Regions from separate parts of the Homo sapiens genome. Here regions 1 and 3 are each linked to region 2. Evidence: promoter capture Hi-C in human tissues and cell types (Jung and others, 2019). All regions are on one chromosome and are shown on one strand. Each heading gives the region's core, a stretch centred on a gene start or on the middle of the fragment in contact. The rest is flanking DNA. Distances are from core to core; before and after follow the strand shown.

The links. Contacts are between HindIII fragments. The study calls those that stand out against the background at their distance.
Region 1: a contact is called between a fragment that was not itself captured here and the fragment with the promoter of SLC25A31 in region 2, in 2 of the 25 tissues and cell types used here (adrenal gland and hippocampus).
Region 3: a contact is called between a fragment that was not itself captured here and the fragment with the promoter of SLC25A31 in region 2, in 1 of the 25 tissues and cell types used here (dorsolateral prefrontal cortex).

What each region holds. Positions count from the first base shown.
Region 1 is chr4:127,668,713-127,672,736 of GRCh38, forward strand. It overlaps INTU (inturned planar cell polarity protein), which reads left to right. Exons shown (of 16, transcript NM_015693.4): 5 at 324-442. Among named protein-coding and RNA genes, the nearest start is that of INTU, 38 kb to the left of the region's middle. The HindIII fragment of the contact is 4,484 bases long and covers 138-4,024 here.
Region 2 is chr4:127,728,892-127,732,683 of GRCh38, forward strand. SLC25A31 (solute carrier family 25 member 31) reads left to right here and starts at 1,509. Exons shown (of 6, transcript NM_031291.4): 1 at 1,509-1,886. The coding sequence starts at 1,655. RefSeq lists a silencer at 1,229-1,386. The HindIII fragment of the contact is 3,983 bases long and covers 1-3,698 here.
Region 3 is chr4:127,687,212-127,690,733 of GRCh38, forward strand. It overlaps INTU (inturned planar cell polarity protein), which reads left to right. Exons shown (of 16, transcript NM_015693.4): 8 at 467-656. Among named protein-coding and RNA genes, the nearest start is that of SLC25A31, 41 kb to the right of the region's middle. RefSeq lists an enhancer at 1-675. The HindIII fragment of the contact is 6,211 bases long and covers 1-3,522 here.

The sequences.
Region 1 (4,024 bases), core at 1,130-3,629, 59 kb before region 2:
TTATAAATTATTATTAAAGAGATTAAAGTTTAAAACTGTTTTAAATGATTTGTAATGTAAATTAATCAGTATCCTACTTAGTATATTATTTGTTATTATGACTAATTTCGGCAGTCTCTAACTTATTTTCAAGTGTAGTCTTTTACATGCTAGTTAATGTGTTAAAATTCCAAGCATAGTTCTCCCCTTGTGTTTGAACAAAACTCCCACTGAAGCTGAAAGGATTCATTTTTTGTTCTTTTCTTAACACAAAGTTTGAACTTGCCCTGACAAAGATAATGGTTGGAAAATTGGGTGGTTTGATCATTTGTTTCATTTAACAGCAGGAAATTCTTTATCATTATCCAATGTCTGAAGCATCTCAGAAACTTAAAAGTGTGAGAGGGATTTTTCTCACACTCTGTGACATGCTGGAAAACGTAACTGGGACACAAGTTACTAGGTAATAATTTTTATTTAGCTTTAATTCTGTTTTTTTCAAGTTCTTTTATTTCACCCTGACAAAATGCTAAAACAAGTATCTGGTATACAAATATACTTGTATCTACAATGTATGTATTATATACATTATAGTCTATAATGTATGTATATACACGTATATATCTATACATTATAGATAACGAGCTCTGCAGAATGTCTGCAGATTTTTGCTTCATCTAAGTTATTTCTACCAGTCATCTATTTGAAGTGTAGATTCTCAACACAGCTGTAGATCTGGGTGTTTTGGCACATTTTAAAAAACACTCGGGCCTATATTTATTATTTCTTCATGAAGATGTATCTTTTAAGCATGGCATTATTATGAATCTCAGCTTTTTCATGTTTCTATCTTGATTGTTAACTTCCTAGGCAATACCTTTGTGGCAAACAGAATTGGCAAGAATGACTGAACACGAAAATTGGTCATATAGTTAGGACATATTCTGTTCTTACAACAATGATAGAAAAATACAAAATGTTCTTTAGGAGGGCTATTCATAATCTGTGAATTTTCCTGCCCTCCCACCCTTCAAAATCTCCAATGTCTGTTATTCCACATTCTATGTCCATGTGTACACATTATTTAGCTCCCATTTGTCCCTTTAATCTAACTTGATTTAGGTTAAAGGCTTAAAAGGAAGACTTGACACTATAGAAATGCTAGAGGAAAACCTAGGAAAAATGCTTCTGGACATTGGCCTAGGCAAATAATTCATGACTAAGACCTCAAAAGCAAATGCAGCAAAACCAAAAATAGACAAATAGGACAGATGCATTCGTCATCAGTGTAGTTAATGATGGATGAGCAACATTGATGTCAAATAATTTTATATTTAGAACTCTTAATATAGTCAATTATAGAGTCAAATACCCATTCCATTGATTTATTAAGCCCTGACATTGAAATGCCATAGTTAATTTATGGGAGGAAAAGGCTCAAAGCTTTTAGGTTTTGTGTTTTTTTTCATAAAATAAATCTAAGAATTATAAACAATTTTTCTTCCTTATTATTTCAACAATTTTAGACTTTACAAGGAAATTTTATCTCAAATTTCAACAGCCTCCGTAATACTGAAAAAATATCAAGTTGGATTTTCTAGGCTTTAACTTTTTTTCCCCCATATTCAGGTAGAAATGACATTTCTATGATTTTAAAAGAGGTAGAATCTACAAGGCAATAGACAGAAGAATTTTATGTTTTAACTAATTAAAAGTCATGTTTAACTATGTGACTTTAATATAGTGTATATACAAACTGTTAGTTTATTTTCAATACAGTAGTACTGGAGGCTCTATTTAGTTTATAAATTTGGGTTCATAAAAGCATATTGCAGGCCTCTTTTTATTTTTTAAAAATCTTTATTGAGATATAGTACATAAGTGATACAATTCACCCATTTGAAGTGCATGTGTAATCCTAAAATTGGTATGGAACCAAAAAAGAGCCTGAATAGCCAAAGCAGTCCTAAGCAAAAAGAACAAAACTTGGAGGCATCACATCACCTGACTTCAAATTATGCTACAAGGCTTTCTATAGTAACCCAAAACAGCATGGTACTGGTATAAAAATAGACATAGATCAATGGAACAGAACAGAGAACACAGAAATAAAGCCACATGCCTATAGCCAATTGACCTTTGACAAAGTTGACAAAAATATACACTGGGGAAAGCACACCCTATTCAATAAATGGTGCTGGGAAAGTTGGATAGCCATATGCAAAAGAATGAAACTGAACCCATCTCTCTCACCATATACAAAAATGAACTCAAGTTAGATTAAAGACTTAAGTGTAATGCCTGACACTATAAAAATGCTAGAAGAAAACCTAGGAAACACTCTTCTGGACTTTGACCTAGGCAAATAATTCATTAGTAAGACCTCAAAAGCAAATGCAACAAAACCAAAAAATAGATAAGTAGGTCTTAATTAAACTGAAAAGTTTCTACACAGCAAAAGAAATAGTCCAGAGTCAATAGATAGCCTGCGGAATGAGAGAAAATATTTGCAAATTGCACATCCACCAACTGACTAATATCCAGAATCTATATAAGGAACTCAGACAACTCAACAAGAAAACAACAAATAACCCCATTAAAAAGTGGGCAAAGGACATGAACAGACATTTTTTAAAAGAAGACATACAAATGGATAACGTGCATATGAAAAAATGCTCATCACTAATCATCAGAGAAATGCAAATTAAAAGCACAATGAGATAACATCTTACACCAGTCAGAATGGCTATTATTAAAAGGTCAAAAAATAACAGATGCTGGTGAGGATGCAGAGAAAAGGGAATGCTTATACAGTGCTGGTGGAATTGTAAATGAGTACAACCTCTACAGAAAACAGTATGGAGATTTCTCAAAAAACTAAAAATAGAACTACAATTTGATCCAGTAACCCCATGACTTGGTATATAACCAAAGGAAAAGAAATCATTATATCAAAAAGGTACCTGCACTCATATATTTATGAGTGCTATTCACAATAGCAAAGATAATGGAATCAATCTAAGCATCCATCAACAGATGACTGGATAAAGAAAATGTGGTGTATGTATATACTATGGAATAAAAAAGAACAAATAAATAAATGGAGTAAATTAAATAAATAAATGGAATAAATAACAGAGAATGAAATCATGTCATTTGCAGCAACGTAGATAGAACTGGAGGCCATTATCTTAAGTGAAACAACTCAAACAGAAAGTCAAATATCACATATTCTCACTTATAAATGGGGGCTAAATAATGTATACACATGGACATAGAGTGTAAAATAACAGACATTGGAGCTTTTGAAGGGCGGGAGGGGAGTCAGAAATGAAAAACTACTTAATGGATACAATGTACACTCCTTAGGTGATGGTTACACTAAAAGCCCAGACTTCACCACCATGCAACATCCATCTATTAAAACTGTACTTGTACTCCCTAAATATATACAAATAATAAATTTTAAAGTGTACAAGTAAATGCTTTTTGGTGTATTCACAGATATGCGCAACCCTCATCAAACTCAATTTTAAAACATTTTTCTCACCTCAGAAAGAAATCCTATACCCTTTAGCTCAGCCAGCCCAACCCCTGGGCAACTGCTAATCTACTTTCCATTCCTATAGATATCCCTGTTCTGGATATTACATATGAATGGAATCATATAATGTGTGGCTATTTGTGACTGGCTTCTTTCATTTAGCATAAGGAGGTGCATTCCTCCTTTTCAGTCTCATTAGAAAGAAAATTTAAGTTTCTCTGTGCGGTGTTGCTTTTTTTTTTTTTTTTGCCTTTATTTTTTCTACTGTAAAGAATAGATGTTATTTTACCTAATATTTAGATTTTGTTATTAACCATGAGATATGGGTTAATTGTGGAAAGCAGTAAATACAGCTAGAAAAACTTTTTTAAGAAGGTAATAAATATGAAAATTATTTTAGGGGTTCCTTAGCAATGTGTGTATCTTTTGTTGCATACACACTTTTTAAACTATAGTAATATTAGTATACTATAAGAGGCTAATATTTGTCTGAAAGTGTAT
Region 2 (3,792 bases), core at 259-2,758:
GAGACAGGAACACCATGAAGTCAAAGGTATTTTCTTAAATGATACTATTATTTGCCTTTTTCACTTTCATTCTGTCCTGAATAAACAGTGGAGTTTTCCAGTGGCTACATGTATGATATCACAACAGACTGAATGCAAAAGCAGTAATGTGAATCTAGCTGTCTTTTATTAAATCAGACATTAGAGATTCAAAAATATAAAACAATACTATTTTTCTACTACATTTTTTATTTAAAAGTCGTACTTATGCTATCCTGTAATGGATTATTTTTATTTTAAATGAATTAAATATTTTTAAATCGTGTTTTAATTTCTGAGTGGTAAATGCCAATATACATAATAAAAACGGAAGCTTCATTGTGTCTTCAATAATTTTTTTTAAGAGACAGGGTCCTGCTCTGTTGCCCAGGCTGGAGCACAGTGGTGAGATAATAACTCACTGCAGCCTACAACTCCAGGGCTCAAGCATTTCTCCTGTCTTAGCCTCCTAAGTAGCTATACTTAGGACTACAGGCTTGTGCAGCCACGCCCAGCTATTTTTTTTTTTGTAAAGGAGGGGTCTCACTATGTTGCCCAGGCTGGACTTGGCCCAAAGTTTTGGGATTACTGGTACCTGGCCTTCAATAATTTTTCAGAGTGAAAAAGAGGGGTCCTGCAATCGAAAAGTTTGTGAACTACTCTTCTAGATAGGTCATTGGCCCTCAACCCTAGAATTAGAATTACTTCAAACACTAGAATTACCTGGAGAATTTAAATACTGATGCCAGGCCTCACTTCTAGACGTTCTGATTTAATGTGCAGGGCCTAATCCCAAGCATCAATTTGAAAAACAAAACAAAACACCCCTCATCCCCTTGAATGTGCAGTCTGGATTGAGAACCACTGCTCTGGATATTATCAATTTAAATACAATATGAAAAAGAGGAACATGTATTATGCTATGGGGGCACAATCATCAAAACGACACAGAAAGTGACTAGACAAAGGATCCCTGCTTAATTAAAGGAACAGATTAAAGCAATTTCCAAGGGAATTTGAAGCATTAACAGGCACATAGGGTGAAATTTAAGGGGAACATCACTTGAATCACACAACAGGTAAGACTGTCTTTTTTAAGATGCCAAGAAAGGTCAAAGGAACCATCTCTGGTCAAAAAAAACGTAACGGATTAAAGCGATTAAGAAAGTGAAGGGGGTAACACTAGGAACTAAAACTAAATTCTGTTAATCTCACACCGCTGGTTTACTGCTCTGGCCTAGTCTCAGCTACTAAATTTCTTCACACAGAACTGGCTCTCCTCGGCCCCTCCCCTCGCCTTTCCTGCTCAATGCTCACCGCCTCCGGACCCCTCCCTCATCAGAAAGCCCAGGCTCCGCTCGTAGAAGTGCGCAGGCGTCACCGCGCATCCAGGAGCCACGTGTCAGGAGTCACGTGTCAGGTGTCACGTGTCAGGCGTCACGTGGCTGGAGGCCGTTGGAGCGCCTGCGCAGCTTTTCCGCACGCGCCTCGCCGGCGCGCGGCTCTCTCAGCGTCCCAAGAGCCACTTTCTCGCCAGTACGATGCTGCAGCGGTTTTCCGGTTTTCCGCTTCCCTTCATCGTAGCTCCCGTACTCATTTTTAGCCACTGCTGCCGGTTTTTATATCCTTCTCCATCATGCATCGTGAGCCTGCGAAAAAGAAGGCAGAAAAGCGGCTGTTTGACGCCTCATCCTTCGGGAAGGACCTTCTGGCCGGCGGAGTCGCGGCAGCTGTGTCCAAGACAGCGGTGGCGCCCATCGAGCGGGTGAAGCTGCTGCTGCAGGTGCAGGCGTCGTCGAAGCAGATCAGCCCCGAGGCGCGGTACAAAGGCATGGTGGACTGCCTGGTGCGGATTCCTCGCGAGCAGGGTGCGTCAAGGCAGGCCGCCCCGACAGCCTCTCCCGGCGCCCTCGTCAGCTTCCCAGAGAAGAGGGTGGCTGGGAGGGGCATGATTGTGGGCCCCACAACCACAGCTACAGCTGTCGGTGATGAATTTGCTTCTTACCCTTCCAGAATTTAGTTTCTGAACCTAACAGGCTCTGCTTTTCCAGGGCCGCGTTGGTCCTGACCAAGTCCTGGTACCGGGGAGACCACTGCCTTCTCTTTCTCTAAATCTGCAGTGCGATTTACACCTTGGTGCACCTGTGCCAGGTCCAGAAGGAGAGTGGTTGACCTCCCAGGATTGAGGGAGATGCCATTAGGCACTCTGCTATAACTAGTGCTCTAAGTTGCTTAAATATTTGTTGGTATAATCACCCCACTATGCTCCAGCATGGGCGACAGAGGAGACCTTGAGTCAAAATCTATATGTATATTTGTTGAAATAGTATGTCTAAGAGAAGTACAAATATGGGAGCACTAGGGCTTACCAGTACTCTGAAACCTATTAGTGAAAAGAGGTTCTGCTTATTCTACTGAAGACCAAGGGGGTACTTCGTTCTGCCCAAAATTCAAGGGGGCCCTAAAAAAAAAAAACCCAACCCTCAGTCATCAAGATAAAAAGTATTTTAAGGCCAGGCGCGGTGGCTCACGCCTATAATCCTAGCACTTTGGAAGGCCGAGGCGGGCGGATCACTTGAGCTCGAGCTCAGGAGTTCTAGACAAGCCTGACTAACATGGCGAAACCCAGTCTATGCTAAATATACAAAAATTAGCCGGGCGTGGTGGCGCACGCCTGCAGTCCCAGCTACTTGCGGGACCCTGATGCGGGGATTTCAGGGAGCCCAGATCGCGCCACCGCACTCCAGCCTGGATGAAGGAGTGAGACCCTGTCTCAAAAAAACAAACAAAACTTTAGGGTCCTTCCGTTTCCGAAGCCCCTCTCTTTCAACTAGAGAGAGAGCTGTTCTCCTTTCTCTTTATTTTTTCTATTAAACCTCCACTCCTAAAAACAGGAAAAAAAAAAAACTTTAAACTATTTTAATGCAATCTTTTAAAAATCAAGTCATGCAAAAGAATTCATAACAAACACAATATATACAAGTTTAAAATAAAGATGGGATCAGTATTACCAGTTTTTCTTTTTGCATCAAGCACTGTCCTTATTTAAAATTTCATTTTTGTTCATCATTGATTTTTTCTATTAATATTGGAATGATTTAAAGAAATAACGAAAGTGCTTTGTGAACCATTGCTGCAAAATGGCTCCCAAGTTAGCTAAAGGGATAAGTCTATCAGATATTTTATATAATCCACCCATATAGTTGGATTCAATAGAAAAATCTGTATGATCTTTTAAAAAGAAATAGACATTTATTGTGTATTCTCAAGAAATGAAGTGGCTTCAACTCCAGTGCAGACCTTTCTTTTAGTCCTGTTCTAGGGCCAGATACTGTCCCATTTAAAAAAGCACCTTGTACCCTAGGAATGCTAGGGATGTGGTTACAACTCTTCCAGACCTGTGGCGTGGAGTATATGGGGTCAGGGGTAGAAACTTAATGCATCATCTGGGAGCTAAGCTCAGGTCTTTCATAGTTTGCCTCTCTCCACTCATTCATTTAATTAAAGCAAGCTTCTCATTTCCCCCAAGATTTTTTCAGGAAAAGCAAGGAACCTGTCTCTTCTTCGTTTATATTCTAAGACTTCTGAAGAGAAGTAGGGGCCTCTCTATTATTAGCTTTTCTGCTTCAAATATTTTGTCAGGTAAAATGAAGTATTCTGGTCAGATAGGGCTGACTAGTGCTAATTTATTTCATATTTTAAATGTTTTTCACAATATTTAAACCTAAACGTATTCAATATGGCCCTTGTAAGTTGATATCATTCTCAGATGTA
Region 3 (3,522 bases), core at 774-3,273, 41 kb before region 2:
AAGGTTAGGTGATTTGCCTGTGATAGCTACCTAGAAAGAGCTGTGATAAGCCAGATCTGTTCTATTACAAAGTTCAAAATCTCTTTATCATTCCACGTTGCCTGAAAGATTTCAGGAGTTGTAAATGGTTAAAAGACAGTCAGAGGTAAAAACAACCTACATTTTTTACAAAAAGGGTACTTCAGCCCTTTCTTTTATAAATATGTCACTTGTGTTAGCCCTGTGGTTCTTCCATAGAGCCATCTACTTGATACACTTGAGAGTAGGTTTTAGGGTAAAAAGTTTGGACAGGGTAAATTTCTTTACACAATCCGTCAGTAACATTCTAGCAGCAATTCTATTGAAGGAAGAGAGGAGTGAGGAAGATAGCCTATGTAGTTGGGAAAGATCCAGTTCCCTTAGGAGCACACAAAAAATGACCACCATTTCCATATGTCGTTCTAACTTACAGCTCTTATTTCTCCAGTGCCTTTTGCCAGATTGAGAATGTTCCTCGTTTGGATCATTTTTTTAACTTGTTCTTTCAAAGAGCACTTCAGCCTGCGAAACTGCATTCCAGCGCCAGTCCCAGTGCTCAGCAGTACGATGCTTCCAGTGCAGTACTTTTAGACAACCTCCCTGGAGTCCGGTGGCTCACACTTCCACTGGAAATCAAGGTAATCTTAGGTATTATAAAGCAGAAGCAGAACCAGGTGCCTTATTATAATCTTGTATCTTCTCTTTTTTTCGTAGACTTTTTGTTATTTTTGGAATTATGGTTAAAAATTAAAGAGGCAATTGGTTGACAAAGTAGGAGGTCCAGTGCAATAAACCCAGAAAGAGAAATTATCCTTTATAAGTAGAAATTAGCTCTCTCCTCTTACTTTTAAATTTAAGCTTTATCCAAGCTAGGACTACTTTTCAGAAATCGTAATTAAATGGTGTGTCTTACTTTGGAATTTTGTGACTTTGATTTTATAATGTAAGGTTATCAAGTTAGAATTATGTTTCTGTACAAAAAAAAAAAAAGTGGATGACATGGTTGACTAACAGTATTCTCAGTTAAAATACAAAGTCCACTAGTCTACCAAAATCTTTTTTTACATGAACATATGTGATTAGCTTTTGGCTTGTCCCATGGATCGCATACCAATAGTAAAACTGTATGACGGTTAAGAATTATCAATATGATTTTAGTTATATCTGTGAACCTAGAATAACTTTATTATTGAATGATTGACAAGATTATTTCAGACATTTTCATCAGTGTAGATCACCATATAATCTATTTAGTTACAGCATTTGTATTAGTATTAAATGAGGCATTATGCCATAGCCACTTCTCTGCTCTTGAAGAAACCTAGGCTATGTTACAGTAGAAACCTAATTCAAGTTCCTACTCTTCATAAGACTCTACAATGTATGATCAAATAAATGCCTTTTTGACAGCTTAATAGTTATTTAAATTGATGTATCAATCACTTTGCTCAGTTTCCTCATCTGTAAAATGGAGGAAATAATAGTCCCTACTTCATGGAAGATTTATGAGTTATTACACGTGAAGTATTTAGAATTGTGCCCGGCACATTGTAGTTGTAGTTATGGGAGCATTATTATACAATTACTATTTGAAAGGAGATGAGGTGTTAGAGCATGTTCAAAAGATGCTTTGCCTTCTGGTATTTTTTTTGTCCTTAGCTCTATCAACTGCCTGGTCTTTTGATATTTCAGGACAATAATTACCCTTTCCTTTCTTTCTTTCTTTTTCTTTTCTTTCTTTCTTTTTTTTTTTTTTTTTTTTTTTGAGACAGGGTCTTGCTTTGTCACCCCAGCTGGAGTGGGAGTGCAGTGGCATGATCATAGCTCACTGCAGCCTCCACATCCCAGGCTCGGGTGATCTTCTCACCTCAGCCTCTCAGGTAGCTGGGACTACACATGCACACCACCATGCCTGGCTAATTTTTGTATTTTTAAGTAGAGACCAGGTTTCTCCATGTTTCCCAGGCTGGTCTCGAACTCCTGAGCTCAAGCAATCTGCCCGCCTCAGTCTCCTAGAGTGCTGGATTACAGGCATGAGCCATGGCACCTGGCCTACCATTTTCTTAAATTGTATAAAAAACTAAGAAGTATGAGATATATAATTCTACCTAATATTTTCATAAGAATATATAAGCATTGGCTGGGCATGGTGGCTCATGCCTGTAATCCTCGTGCTTTGGGAGACTGAGGTGGGAGGATCACTTGAGGCCAAGAGTTCAAGACCAGCCTGGACAACATATGGAGACCCTATCTCCACAAAAACTTTAAACATTAGCAGAGCATGGTGGCACACACCTGTATTCCAGCTACTCAGTAGGCTGAGGTGGGAGGATTACTTGAACCCAGGAGTTGGGCTCCCCACTCAATCATAGTTGCAGTGAGCTATGATTGCACCACTGCACTACGGTGGGGCAACAGAATGAGACCCTATCTCAGGAAAGGAAAGGAAAAGGAAAAAGAAGAGGGAAAAGGGAAGAGAAAAGGAAAAAGGAAAGGAGAAAGAAAGGGGAAAGGAAAGGGGGAGGGAAGAGGCAAGGGAAGGGAAGGGAAGGATATAAGTGTTCGATATAGATAGAAACATAGAAAGTAACTAGATAACTTTACCTTTAAAAGAGAAAGACCCTGGTTCCAAAGACTGTCTCATGCCCATTCTGGGGTCTTTTATCCTCAGTCACAGGGCCCATGCCCACTTCATGAGTCAGAAGGTACCATCTCGTGAGGCTTGCCATTCTACCTGGCCATTACTTAGGTTCTTGCCCCTCTGTCAGAATTTCTTCATTAAAGAAACCTCTTCCCTCAAAATATATAGTCCCTTCTTTCTGTGATAGTAGAGGTACTTAATGTTTTAGGGGCAGTGTGTTTAGAATTTAGATACATTAAATATTATCTTCCCTCGAAGAAGTTTAAGATGTTCTAAAGTATTGTCTATTTGGGGCTTACAGATTCCATGTGAAGGCTACCTCTTTTTCATTGAGATTTTTGTTAATTTAGCATATATTTCTTTAAAAGATTTATATGCTTTTCTTTATTTCACCCTAAAAGAATATCAAATTAAGAAATCACTGTGTGAATTCTGGTATACATTTTTAATTCATTGCCTTAAACCATAGCTGTTGCTTATCTTGCCAGTGCTTTGGCTGCTTTTATCCTTGTTACGTCTAACACTGCTGTGTGGAGATCAGTGTTCATTGTGCCGGTTGCTCAAGTCTGTGCCATGCTTTGCAGAATCCAGAAAAACCTCTAGATGTTCACAGTCAGGTTGAGCAGGTGAAATTAATACACAGGAAACAGTGAGGATCTGGCTTAGATGTTTTCTACATTTTGTAGTCCAGTTAGGAGATTAAGAACAATACTTTTGGGAAGAGAGCTAGATACCTTTTGCTAAAGTAGTCTAAAGCTCTATTTGATTAATATAAAATTTGAACAACAATAACATTTGAAGTTTTTTTTATTCTATTTTTTACTGCAGTTTTAGGTTCACAGTAAAATTGAGAGAAAGGTACA